Linked DNA regions of Homo sapiens: all the other regions are linked to region 3. Evidence: promoter capture Hi-C in human tissues and cell types (Jung and others, 2019). All regions are on one chromosome and are shown on one strand. Each heading gives the region's core, a stretch centred on a gene start or on the middle of the fragment in contact. The rest is flanking DNA. Distances are from core to core; before and after follow the strand shown. Region 1 overlaps DDX31 (DEAD-box helicase 31). Region 2 holds the start of GTF3C5 (general transcription factor IIIC subunit 5). Region 3 holds the start of AK8 (adenylate kinase 8).

The links. Contacts are between HindIII fragments. The study calls those that stand out against the background at their distance.
Region 1: a contact is called between a fragment that was not itself captured here and the fragment with the promoter of AK8 in region 3, in 3 of the 25 tissues and cell types used here (dorsolateral prefrontal cortex, lymphoblastoid cells and spleen).
Region 2: a contact is called between the fragment with the promoter of GTF3C5 here and the fragment with the promoter of AK8 in region 3, in 1 of the 25 tissues and cell types used here (ovary).

What each region holds. Positions count from the first base shown.
Region 1 is chr9:132,653,020-132,657,276 of GRCh38, forward strand. The region is part of intron 6 of DDX31 (DEAD-box helicase 31); the gene reads right to left. Among named protein-coding and RNA genes, the nearest start is that of DDX31, 15 kb to the right of the region's middle. The HindIII fragment of the contact is 4,990 bases long and covers 1-4,257 here.
Region 2 is chr9:133,029,271-133,033,498 of GRCh38, forward strand. It overlaps GTF3C5 (general transcription factor IIIC subunit 5), which reads left to right and starts at 1,727. Exons shown (of 11, transcript NM_012087.4): 1 at 1,727-1,894. The coding sequence starts at 1,742. It overlaps LOC105376306 (a long non-coding RNA gene), which reads right to left and starts at 1,152. Exons shown (of 2, transcript NR_135119.1): 1 at 880-1,152. RefSeq lists enhancers at 908-1,157, 1,392-2,043, 1,488-1,747. The HindIII fragment of the contact is 13,557 bases long and covers 1-4,228 here.
Region 3 is chr9:132,876,677-132,881,016 of GRCh38, forward strand. It overlaps AK8 (adenylate kinase 8), which reads right to left and starts at 1,608. Exons shown (of 13, transcript NM_152572.3): 1 at 1,496-1,608. The coding sequence starts at 1,579. SPACA9 (sperm acrosome associated 9) reads left to right here and starts at 2,222. Exons shown (of 4, transcript NM_001316897.2): 1 at 2,222-2,338. The HindIII fragment of the contact is 8,008 bases long and covers 1-4,340 here.

The sequences.
Region 1 (4,257 bases), core at 575-3,074, 220 kb before region 3:
AGAGGTCCTGGCCCATACAATCAGACAAGAAATATGATGTATAAAATTAGAAAATAGGAAACAAAATTATTGTTAGCAGATGTTATTTTATCTTACAAAAAAAAAAACCATAAGAGAACTAATGTAAAATCTATTACAAACAAGATAATTTTGTCAAGCAGCTGAATGCAAAATTAACATATAAAAATCAATAGCCAGGTGCAGTGGCTCACGCCTGTAATCCCAGCACTTTGGGAGGCCAAGACAGGCGGATCACTTGAGGTCAGGAGTTTGAGACCAGCCTGGCCAACATGGTGAAACCCCGTCTCTACTAAAAATACAAAAATTAGCTGGGCATGGTGGCGGGCGCCTGTAATCCCAGCTCTTCGGGAGGCTGAGGCAGGAGAATCACTTGAACCCAGGAGGTGGAGGTTGCAGTGGGCTGAGATCGCACCATTGTGCTCCAGCCTGGGCAACAAGTGAAAAACTCAGTCTCAAAAAAAAAAAAAAAAAAAAAAAAAAAAAAAAAAAAAAAAATTTCAACAGCCTTCCAATATAAAAAGTTAATAGCAACAAAAAAGATAAAAGGAATATAAGCTTAGCAAAAAATATACAAAATCTATATGAAGAAAATTTAAAAACACCTCTGAGGGGCATAAAGTAAATTTTGAATAAATGGAAGGATACACCCTATTTCCAGATAAGAGGATGCAATAGTACATATAAGCTAATTCTCTCTAAATCACTCCATAAACGTAATGTGATGCTAATAAAAATGCCACAAATGTGTATATATAAAATAACATATATAACCAAACAACCTGATTTGAAAGTTCATATGGAAAAATAAATGTACAAAAATAACCAAGACATTTATGAAAAACATCAGATGTTAAAATAATTTAAAGCTACAGCAATTACAAATAATGATACTGGCACATGAATAGAGATTATAATAGCAAATAAAGTTGAGAATAGAATCAAATAGATAACAAAATTTAGAAAATAATATAAGGGCCATTTTATATCAGCAAGAAAAAGATGGTTTAATTCAAAAGTCCTGTGAGAAAAAAATAAAGTTAGGAAAACAAAGCTGGAATTGTCCTTTTAACAGATGACATAAAACTCAGAAACCTTAAAATAAAACACTGATACGTTTTATTACCTAAGAATTTTAAATTTCAGAATGGAAAAATAATACCTAAACAAAACCAAGAGTCAAATGATAACCTGGGGAGAAAATATGCCACACCTGAGAGAAAGAGCTAATTTCCTTAATTTATATATTTTAAAAAGCCCTGTAATTCAATCTTTAAAAAAAGACCAACTTGGCCAGGCACGGTGGCTCACGCCTGTAATCTCAGCACTTTGGGAGGCTGAGGTGGGTGGATTACTTGAGGTCAGGAGTTAGAGACCAGCCTGGCCAACATGGTGAAACCCTGTCTCTACAGAAATACAAAAAAAATTAGCCAGGCGTGGTGGTGCATGCCTGTAATCCCAGCTACTCAGGAGGCTGAGACAGGAGAATCTCTTGAACCCAGGAGGTGGAGGTTGCAGTGAGCCGAGATCGTGCCATCGCACTCCAGCCTGGGCGACAGAGCGAGACTTCATCTCAAACAAAACAAAACAAAACAAAACAAAATTCAAATAGAAAAATGAATAAAGGGCCGGATGTGGTGGCTCATGCCTGTAATCCCAGCACTATGGGAGGCCAAGGCGGGTGGATCACTTGAGGTCAGAAGTTCAAGTCCAGCTTGGCCAACATGGTGAAACCCCATCTCTACTAAAACTACAAAAATTAGGCGGGCGTGGTGGTAGGCATCTGTAATCCCAGCTGCTTGGGAGCCTGAGGCAGGAGAACTGCTTGAATCCGGGAGGTGGAGGTTTCAGTGAGCCGAGATTACGCCACTCCACTCCAACCAGGGCAACAGAGCGAGACTCTGTCTCAAAAAAAAAAAAAAAAAAAGAAGAAGAAGAAACATAAAGCAGCTGAGAGCATTGGAGGGCATGGGAAAACTGGACCTTCTACACCGCTGCTGGAGTGCACACTGGCATATTCCCTTTCAAGTTTAATGTTGGCATTATCTACTAAAATAAAAATGCACATTCCACTTACAGAAATTTCTCCTATAGACCATATGTGTGTGTAAAGAGGTTGTAGAATATTTTACAGACTGTAGAGTATTTAAGTGGCCTTGTTTGTAGCAAAATACTGAACATAATATAAATTCCACCAACCAATAAGAGAATGAGTCAGTAATTCACGGTACATACATACATACAATGAAATGCTAGGCAGTCATCAAAAAGAACAAGGTAGCCCAATATGGTGCTAATTAAGGAGCCCAAAACACATCAAAGAAACCAAAGCAAGGCACAGAACATCCTGCATAACAAAGCAACCACTCATGTATCAAACCAAGCAAAACAGAAAAACAAAAAACTTCACAAAATTGGTAAGAGGAATTACACATCCTCAAATTTGCTTGATATGCAGAGAATTTCCCCAGGAGGATATACAAGAGACTGGTAATAACCACCATGGCATCTTGAGAAGCAAACTGTGCCACTAAGGGAAAGTGGGAATAGATGACTTTACTTTTCGCTATATATATTTTTGGTACTCTTTGAAATTTTTAAAACATATATGGTACATTATATCTAAAAAGTATTAATAAAAAAAACAGAAGAAACCAAAGTAATCCGAAAAAGGCCCCTAAGCCAATGGTGCCTTGCACATTCAAAGTGCTCAAAGACACTGAATGAATGAACAAAACAACGTTACTGCCAAAGCTAAGCACAGAGTTAACAGCAAATTCAATTACAAGTATGGTTTTCGTGTTTTGCATAAGAAACATTTACCCAAAAGAAGAAAAGGATTTGGAATTCAAACCAGAGTTGTCTGTACTCAACATCGACTTTGTGAGACTACACTGAACGCAGGCTAGGAATGGTAAATATGCTAGTACAACAGCAGCAACGTGCCGCTGTGTGACGTTAGGAGATTCTGACATTTCAAAAGGTGTTACTACATAGAGAAGAAGAAAGAAAAATCAATTCCTCACAGGGCACAAGTAAGTGAGGGAGGATGGATATGATGTTAAAAAAAAAATCAGAGCCAAAATAACTGAAGAGTGTGAACACAGAAAAGCAGTCCGTTCTCACGCCATCACCAAAGTAATTTAAGGATCTGTTGGGTGCCTTAAATTTGCTGTGCCCTCCAGATAAGCTTTTTACAGGTCAAATCATTTTACAATGAACTCCAAGGGACTATATTATTACTTGAAATAAGTGAATTAAATTGAGGCTTGGAAAACTGTGTTTCTACAGAATATTCCAGTCTTTAATAGAATGACCGACCTGTTCGTGATTTTTTAAAATATTGCAGCAAGTAAAATATGACATATAACCAATCAAATCACTGCCCCTCCAACTAGCCACATGACCACGTTGCTGACGATGGCTAAAGCATGATGTCACCATGCACTGCCCGTCGGGTCTCAACACTGCACATGCATTAGCTCAACCCTGATCCCAGCCCTTGGAGACAGGCACTGACCGCTACCATCCCTGTGCCACAGCAAAGGCACTGAGGCACAGAGGATGAACAATTTGCCTCAAGTTACCCTCAGACCCAGGATTGAGCACAGCTGCCCACCACACCATTCCCCTGATATGTATGTCATCAAATCTCTCTCATCCTCCAGTCATGGATCTATGAAATTAGAGTTAGGCTAGAACTGTATAAGCCATTCCAGCTCAAATAGTCCAAACTCTTCAACTGGTATAAAGAAAAACCTCTCCACTGGCAAGATGCTCTCCTGGAGTACGTAAGTGGATGAGACTTTACTACATGATTGTAGTAATTTACATTTATTTTTCTCTATGTGCCAGGGACAATGCTAAGCACTTTACACAAATTCTCTCACCGTAAAGCACTTAATAGGGGGAAAAAAATCAGTTACCTTTAGGAAGTAAAATTCCTCACTCAGAGAAAACCAATGTTAACAGTTTGCTAAGAATTATTCCAGCCTTTTTATGCATGCATACACAACTATTACTTATGAAACTGGGGTCACACTATACACATCATTTTGTAACCTGCCCTTTTTCAAGTAACAAAGCAAGAATATTTGCTCAAGTTCACAAATAGTAATTGAAAAAGTATCATTTTTTAATGGCTATACTTGGTTCCATCTCTGGATGATTTTGTAGGGTTTAACTGATTTTTAAAAATTCTGAACCTATTCATTTTGAATGAATTCAGGCTTATAATTT
Region 2 (4,228 bases), core at 477-2,976, 150 kb after region 3:
GCATGATCATAGCTCACTGCAGCCTCCAACTCCAGGGCTCAAAGGATCCTCCTGCCTCAGCCTTTTGAGTAGTTGGGACTACTGTGGCATGCACCACCATGGCCGGCTAATTTTGTATTTTTTGGTAGAAATGGGGTCTTCCCCTGTTGCCCAGGCTGGCCTCCAACTGCTGGGCTCAACTGATCCTCCCGCCTCAGCCTCCCAAAGTGCTGGGATTACAGGCGTGAGCCACTGTGCTGGGCCATGATTCTCATCTCCCAATATTCTCAAACCCAGTCCCTTCATCTCTTGACTGGATTATGCAGTCTCGGAGCTGGTTTATCTGAACTCACTTTCTCCCCCTTTGATCTGTTCTCCACACAACAGCCAGAGAGGTCTTTCAAATGCATGAATGGGATCACTGCTCCGCATAAAACCCTTCAAGGGGCCAGGCGCGGTGGCTCACGCCTGTAATCCCAGGACTTGGGGAGGCCGAAGCAGGCGGATCATTTGAGGTCAAGAGTTCAAGACCAGCCTGGCCAACATGGTGAAACCTCGTCTCTACTAAAAATACAAAAATTAACCGGGCATGGTGGCAGGCGCCTGTAATCCCAGCTATTCGGGAGGCTGAGGCACGAGAATAGCTTGAACCCGAGGCGGAGGTTGCAGTGAGCCGAGAAAGCGCCACTGCATTCTAGCCTGGGCGACACAGCGAGATTCCTTCTCAAAAAAAGAAACCTTCAGGGGCTCTCCACGGCACTGGGAAGCAGCCAGCCCGACGGGTGGACCCTTTTCGTGGGTGCGGGTCTCTGACCTCGGTCGGCCTCGGACCTCATCTCCTCCCTGTTTGAGGGGCCACACTCCTCGCTCCGGGGCTTTGCAGCAGCCCTGGGCGCCTACCGGACAGACGCCGTTCTCCCCGCCTGGGTCTTGAGTAGGGCCCAGCACACAGTAGGCGCTTAATGTCTGCCTGCCTAACAGACGAACGCCGGATGCCCGCGTTCGGCCCCGAGCCGGCGCTTCGGGGCTTTCTGTGGAGGCGGGGCGATGGTTACAGCACAGTTCCCCCGCGCTCGCCTTTTCCACATCCACCTCCGCGAGGCCCCCCGCAAGCGCCGTTGGAAACCTAGTCCCGAGGGGGCTGCAAGAGCTTGGGAGAAGAAGCGCCAACACCGACAGAATACCAGGCCGACCCAATGCGGAAATCAATTCTCAGCCGGGACCTTTTCCCCACCAAGCAGGCGGGCCGGAAGTCTGCCTCTGGCCCGCCCCCGAGGTGTCATTGGGTGGAATACCCAGAAGAGGGCTGGGACGTGGTTAACTCTAGTTCTTTATTGGTTAAAACGTACGAAGCTGGAGGAGAAGGTGGGACCTAGCTTCCTCCGGACTTCTCATTGGCTCAAAAAAAAACTCGCTCGGCCCTCGGATTCTCATTGGCTGAAGTCGAGGGAGGTTTGTGTCTTATTATCCTCCGGGTCCCTCGCTGGCTAGTAGGAGAGACTGGTGCTTGCCCCGCCCGGTGGACTAACTCGCTTAATTTTAAATAAAAAGTCGAGGACACGGCGGTCGTTTTCCCGAAGACATGGGCCCTCCCATGGGCCATTTGCTCCCTGGAGGCCCTCGCGTCTTGCTGAGCCCGGGGAGTTAGGATGACGCGAGCGGTGAGGGAGCCCGGAACGATTCCTTCGCGGAACAATTGAGGCGAGGCCTTTGGGAGTACTTTGTGGGACGGACCCTGGCGGGCCCTGCCAGACGCACAGGGATGGCGGCGGAGGCGGCCGATTTGGGGCTGGGGGCCGCCGTCCCCGTGGAGCTGAGGCGGGAGCGACGCATGGTGTGCGTGGAGTACCCGGGAGTGGTGCGTGATGTGGCTAAGATGCTGCCGACTCTGGGCGGCGAGGAAGGCGTCTCCCGGGTAAGGGGCTGGGAATCTCGGTGTTGGAATAAGAGCTCGGAGTCGCAAAGAAAACGAGCACTCAAAGGATTTCTCAGCAAGGGAAATTTAGCAAATTTACTTACGCAGAAGGGTGCTGCTCGCTCTTCTGGCCGCTGCAAGAGAGCCAACAGAACAAAGAAGGGAAGGATTTTTGTTTTTGTTTTTGTTTTTTTGTTGGTTTTTCAGGCGGAGTTTCGCTCTTGTTTCCCAGGCTGGTGTGCGGTGGTGCGATTTTGGCTCACTGCAACCTCCGCCTCCAGGGTTCAAGCGATTCTCCTGCCTCAGCCTCCAGAGTAGCTGGGATTACAGGCGCATGCCACCACGCCCGGCTAAATTTGTATTTTTTAGTAGAGAGGGGGTTTCACCATGTTGGTCAGGCTTGTTGGAAATAAATTTTGGGTGCCGCAAAGAAGAATCAGCACTCTGGCAAACAGTTTTCTCAGCAAGGCAAATTTCCTTCTATAGAAGGGTGCATCTTGCGGATGGAGCAATGGCGAGAGCACACCGACAAGGAAGGGGAAGGGGTTCCTATCTCTTACACAGCTAGTCTCTACTGCTGTGTCTTTCCCATATTGGCTAGGGTTGGACCGCACAGTCTAAGCTAATTCCGATTGGTTATTTCAAAGAGGGCAGGGGCACAGGCCTGAGTGGCGGGGTGAGTAGTTTTGGTGGGAAGGATGGTTACAGAGCAGGTGACTCAGGATGACTAAGGACAGAGCAGGTGATAGAAGCTAGGAAGGGGTTGTTTACTGAAACTAGGGGCAAGGAGGCGTAAAGAACGAGGGGTTAAACTTTAAAATGGAGAACAAAGAACAGGGAAGCTGAACATACTGACATATTGGTTCTTTGAAATGGAACTCATAACTCATTGTATTTATTAATTTTCCCCCTCTTGAATTTAAAGGAAGGTAAAAGGCTAAAATCTTTGAAGTGGAATTTACTGTGTCCTATAGGCTGGTCTTGAACTCCTGAGCTCAGGTGATCCACCCGTCTTGGCCTCCCAAAGTGCTGGGATTATAGGCGTGAGCCACCGTGCCCAGCCTGGAATGGGTTTTTATCCCTAAGGCAGTCAGTCCCTGTTTTTGTGTCCTGTCCCTGCTGGTTGGAGTTGGACCACACAATCTAAGCTAATCTCAATTGGCTATTTTAAATAGAACAGGGGTGTGGGTTACAGTGACGGGACGAGCGATTTCGGTGGGAAGACTAGTTTCGGCGGGAAGGGCAGTTAAACAGAGCGGGTAACTAAGGGCAAGGAGGCACAAAGAACAAGGAAGTTAGACTTTGAAGATGGAGAACAAAGAACAAGGGAGTTGAACAAGCTGAACCTTTGAAGAAGAATTCACTGTATAGAACAGTTTCCCCCTCTTGATTTTCATACTTCTTTCTCTTCAAACCTTTTTAGCATGTCTCGACTTTGCTGTTCTTGGTTTTCTAAAAGTAGAAGTTTGTCTGAATAAGGCGGGGGGAAATTGGAGGTTAGTGAGAGCTGTCTCCGTAAGTCTTTGTATTAACCCTCAGGCACAGGGTATGATACAACATCCTACGAGAATAAACACGTTTATTACAATGGCAAGGGACATAAGGATCGAGGACATAAGTCCTTTCCACCTGCCGAACAATCTTCCCGTTAGATCAGTGAAGAGATCGTTTATCCCAGAATTTTAAGCTAGCTCATTGGATAAAGCAGTAAGACCTTGCAGTGCCTTTGTTATGGTTCCGTCAGGAACAGTATTATTTGGGATAAAAGTACAACATTGGGTTCCAAGCATGACACAAACGCCACCCCTCTCTGCTAGTATCATTTCTAATGCTATTCTATTTTCCCAAGCCATTTGACTGGTGGGTCCTAGTTGTTCAGCTGTTCCTTTGATAGCATTCCTAGTATAATTAACAAATTGTTGCTGGTTGTAATAGATGTAACTTATCCAATCTACATTTTTATTTATAGTTAACCACCAGAAAAACATAGACTCAAATCCCGCAGCTATTTGATTACAAGCCTTAAATTCATCAGGTACCCCTCGGGGAACTCCAGTGGCATCTGTATAAACACGAGGGTCAAAGGAACCACGGGGGGCATCTCTTACTCTACGGTGTCTTGTTTTTACTTCTTCTGGTTGATGAAATGCCAGAGTGAAAGGGATGGCCAATTGGATCAGAGCACAGGTACCGCTCCAGTTACTTGGCAGAGTATCCAGTTACGGTCCACCACAATGCCACCATACATCTGCTCAGGATAAATGACTAGGGGCAGATTCATGGGTAAGCTCTTGGAAGGGCTTAAGCTCACTGCATCCTGTTAGGTCCCCAAGG
Region 3 (4,340 bases), core at 358-2,857:
AATCCATACTATTTTTTAACTTCCTGTGAATCTAACATTATTTTAAAATCAAAAGTATAAAAAATGGAAATGGTCAAAAACATGGAGGGAATCCACAGATGACTAAGGACTGGAAATACTGGACTGAAAGCTTTCTTGTTGGGAGGCCGAGGCAGAAGGACTGTTTGAGCCCAGGAGTTCAAGACCAGTCCGGGCAACATAGCAAGACCTCGTCTGTACTAAAATTAAAAAAAAAACATTAGCCAGGTATGGTGGCCTGCACCTGTAGTCTCGGCTACTCTGGAGGGACTAAGGCAGAAGGATTGCTTGAGCCCAGGAGTTCAAGGCTGCAGTAAGCCATGATTGTATCACTGCACTCCAGCCTGGGCAGCAGTGCAAGACCCTGTTTCAAAATCAATAAAAGCTTTCCTGGGCAATTCCTCCAACAATCAATGTGGAAAACACACCAGGTTCTCTAGAGCAGACAACAGGGCTCCAGATGATCCCCCATCCTGCCCTGACCTGCTGACTTCTAACCCAGCTAGCTATTTGATTTGTGATTGGCCACTCAAGCAGTTTTAGGAATCTCTTGCTCTCCCTCTATCAGTTAACACTTTCCGAGGGAAATGTGTTTGATGGAGGTGCAGACACGGGTTTCTTCGTCTGGGCTCAGCTGTCTAGTGTGCAGGGCAGAACCTCAAATGACCACAGACACCACTATGCCCTCCATGCCATGCCCCTGGGGATGGGGTGTACCCTGGGAAGCAGACAAATGATCTGAAAACTGAGCTCCAGCTTCCCCTTGCCTCTCAGAACCTTTGAGTGGCTGAGAGTTCTTCCCCTCCAGCTCCTGAAAGCCTTGACCTCCACCACGTGCAAAAGGGAAAACTGGGGCCCTGGCGGGGACGGGGCCTCGCCCAAAGTCACACGGTGAGCTGGGGGCCCAGTCAGGCCTGGAGCCAGAATGAGAGCTTCGGAGCTGCCGGGGACGTCTGGCCCTGAGGAGGAGGGACCAAGGTGGGAGATGCTGCTGTCCCAGAGGCGGCCCTCTCTGAGGATGGAGATGCCAGCTTGAACTCGGACAATGCCCACCTCAGAAACCTGGGCCGAGAGGCTCCCCACAAATTCGACAGATGGTAATTGTCAGCGCCGGGAGAGCCCCTGGGAGACCACCTCTTGCAACCTGGCATTTCACAGGTGGGGAAACCGAGAAAAGGAAAGGACTGGTTCCAGACCATAAGGCCCGCTGGCGGCACAGCCAGGACCAAATCCCGGCTCGAGTGGCCCCCTTCCTCCCCCTGGGTCCGCCTGAGGCAAACCCGGGCAGGACCAGGAGCGTCCCCAGCTCGAGGGCCCCCTCGGGGTCACGGCGACACACGAATCGTACATCCCGAGTTGGGCTGCTTCGTGGGCGCGCGACTCGGCCCCAGCTGCGGGTCCCGGCCGCGCACCCGACGTCGCAGTGGAGGCTCCCGAGCCGCCGCCAGCGTCGCGACGGGCAGGGGTGTCCGGTCACCTGCATCAACTCGAAGATGTGGTTCTCCTCCCCGTACTGGGGCATCTCGGGGGGGATACGGTGCGGGGCGATAGTGGCGTCCATGTAGCCGTCTCGGCTCGCCGCTCCCTAGTAACCGCGTCGCTAGGGCCGCCGCGCCGACTGCGTCATCAGCACGCGCCGCGGCCCCGCCCTGCAGGCTCCGCGCCGGGCCCAGATACCCGATCCTCGGTCGCGCGGGTCGCCCCCGCCCCGACCTCCCCGGCTGACGCGCTCTGCGGCTCGGGCAAGTTCTTTCCCCAACCCCGGCCTCGCTTTTCCCATTTGCGCATCTTAGCGGGGGACACCCTCAGGTGGCTTCCAGCTGGGCCTCCTCGTATCTGAGACCCCCGACGAAACCCAGAAGGGGCAAGTCGGCCCTCCGAGGGGACGGGAGGCAGAACCTGCTTCTGGTTCTGTCAGTGCTCCCCGGCCCGGCTCCCTGTGCCTCAGTTTACCCATCTTTAAAACAGACGCGGGAATAAATGTGGGGGAGGGTGTTTGAAGGGGGAGGGGCGTCCATGAGATGGGCCGGAGGTTCGAGGATCGGGTGGAAATCCTCAGCCCAACTCCTAGAGTCGAGCCCCGGTAGACCCCTCCCAGCTCCCCGGCTCTGGCCAAGCCGCCAAGTGACCCGATTGCTATGGCACCGGCGGTAACAATCACGCCCGCGGCCCCGCCCCTTCTCGCCCGACGTCCCCACCCACCCTCGCCTCCCAAGTCCTGGAACGGGCCTCCCCACCCTCCGGGGCACCGACACTCACGGAGTCACTCCAACTTCTCTGGGTGCTCCGTGGAGCGAAGAGCGCTCTAGGACAAGCAAGGGTAAACAGGGATGAGTGTGGGTGGGCCCACTCGGACCCCACCCCGGCCTCTGGGTCAGAAACTGGAAGCTGGGGTGGAGGATGGAAAGATGGAGGGGTCCGGAGGATGGAGGGGCCTGCACAGCTGTCTCGGGGTGGGGGCGAGGGGAAGGTTCGCGCTGGAGACGGAGCTTTTTAAGTCGTATGAATTCCCAGTGGTACGGGGCAGCTTGATATTTTATTAGTCGCAACACTGAATTGGGATCTCTAGCTCTTGTCTGTTGCCGTTAATCGTAGGAGCTGTAAGAGTTTGTTGAACTCTTTGTGCTCTCGGCAAAATTCTGTTGTCTCTGTACCTTATGGAGAGGGAAAATGGCACAGTCAATGCAGACAGCCCCAGCTTCAAGTTCTGGCTCCGCTTCTTACTGTGTGAGCTTGGCAAACTCTCTGCTTGCTCCGTGCCTCACTTTCCTGCCCTGTGAAGAGGGAACTGCTGAAGGATTTCAGGAGCTAATGTATTGGAGAGTAATTGGCATGCAGTAAGCACACAATATATGGGGCTACTATTAGTAGTAGTATCTCATTTAATCGTTCCAACAATCCTGTGAAATAGGCACCTTCATTCCCATTTTACAGATGAGAAGTTGGAGGATTAGAACAATGAGGAGTGGTTGGCTGGGTAACTTTGGGTGAGTCACTTCCCCTTTCTGGGCTTCTTTTCTCATCAGTTGTTGATCATACAGCCTTAGAACCAGAAGGCCTCTTGAAGAAGAGGCTAATCCAAACTCTCTCATTTGACAGATGGATAAACTGAGGCCCAGAAAAGGGGGAAATCTTGGCTAGGGCCACTGGTTAGATTGGGCAGAGCCAGGGCATGAACTCTGCATCCAGGCTCCAGCTAAAGCCCTTTTCTACCAGCCATCAGCCCAGAGACATGCCCTCCCAACGTAAAAGCCAGCACTGTTGCCTCTTCCCCTCCAAACCGCTTCCTCAAAGTGTGTACACCTTGGTAGGCTTGTCAAACCCAACTGTAAAGATAGCTGGGGAAGAAAAGGAAGCTGCCTCCCCCTGAGCAAAGAACACAACAGCCATGCCTGCCATTTGCACTGGAGAGGTTTGTTTTGCTTCCTGGACATTTCTGAAATGACTTGCCTTTCTCCTCATTTATTTTAAGCCCTAGGCGCTTTTCCTACCATGATTCAATCTTCTTTAGCAGCCTGGAAAAATACAAATCAATTAAAGCCTAAAACCTATGGGTAATCATTTTTTTCCTCCCTCCTCCCCCAGATCGAGAAGTGCCCGTCCCCTGTGCCCTTCATCCACACTAATTTGGCTGCAGTGGCTCTCGTTCAAGGGACGATCACTTCGGATAGCTTATTACAGCTCCTCTCATGACATTCCTGGCGTGCATGTCACAAGTTGCTAGGATCAAGAACAGAGTCAGTTCCTCTCAACCACTACCAACCACAGCTCCCACCATGATGAGGGAAAAGCCAGGCCGAAAGGGCACACGCCCTTTCTCCCTGGAACTCCACCTATGTGCTCTCTCTCACTTTTCTGGAGCTTCACCTTTGAGTCATTTGTAAGCCCTGGGCCAACATTAGGGCAAGGCAAGTGATGCACCCTCAGCACAAAACTTAAGGGAGTGCCGGCAATTCAATCATTGAGGTGGATGTTTTTCACGTTTTAATGCAATATATTTTAAAAATCAAAAATAATGCTGCCTAAAATCCATTTAGAATAACATGTCAAAAATTTAAGTAAAGGTAGGCTCAGTGTTACTGATTTCTCCTTTTGCCTCAGGCCTCAGTATGGCAAGGTGCAGCTATCTTTTTTTTTTTTTTTTTTGAGATGGAGTCTTGCTCTGTCGCCCAGGCTGGAGTGCAGTGGCGCCATCTCGGCTCACTGCAAGCTCCGCCTCCCAGGTTCACGCCATTCTCCTGCCTCAGCCTCCCGAGTAGCTGGGACTACAGGCGCCCGCCACCGTGCCCGGCTAACTTTTTTTGTATTTTTATTACAGACAG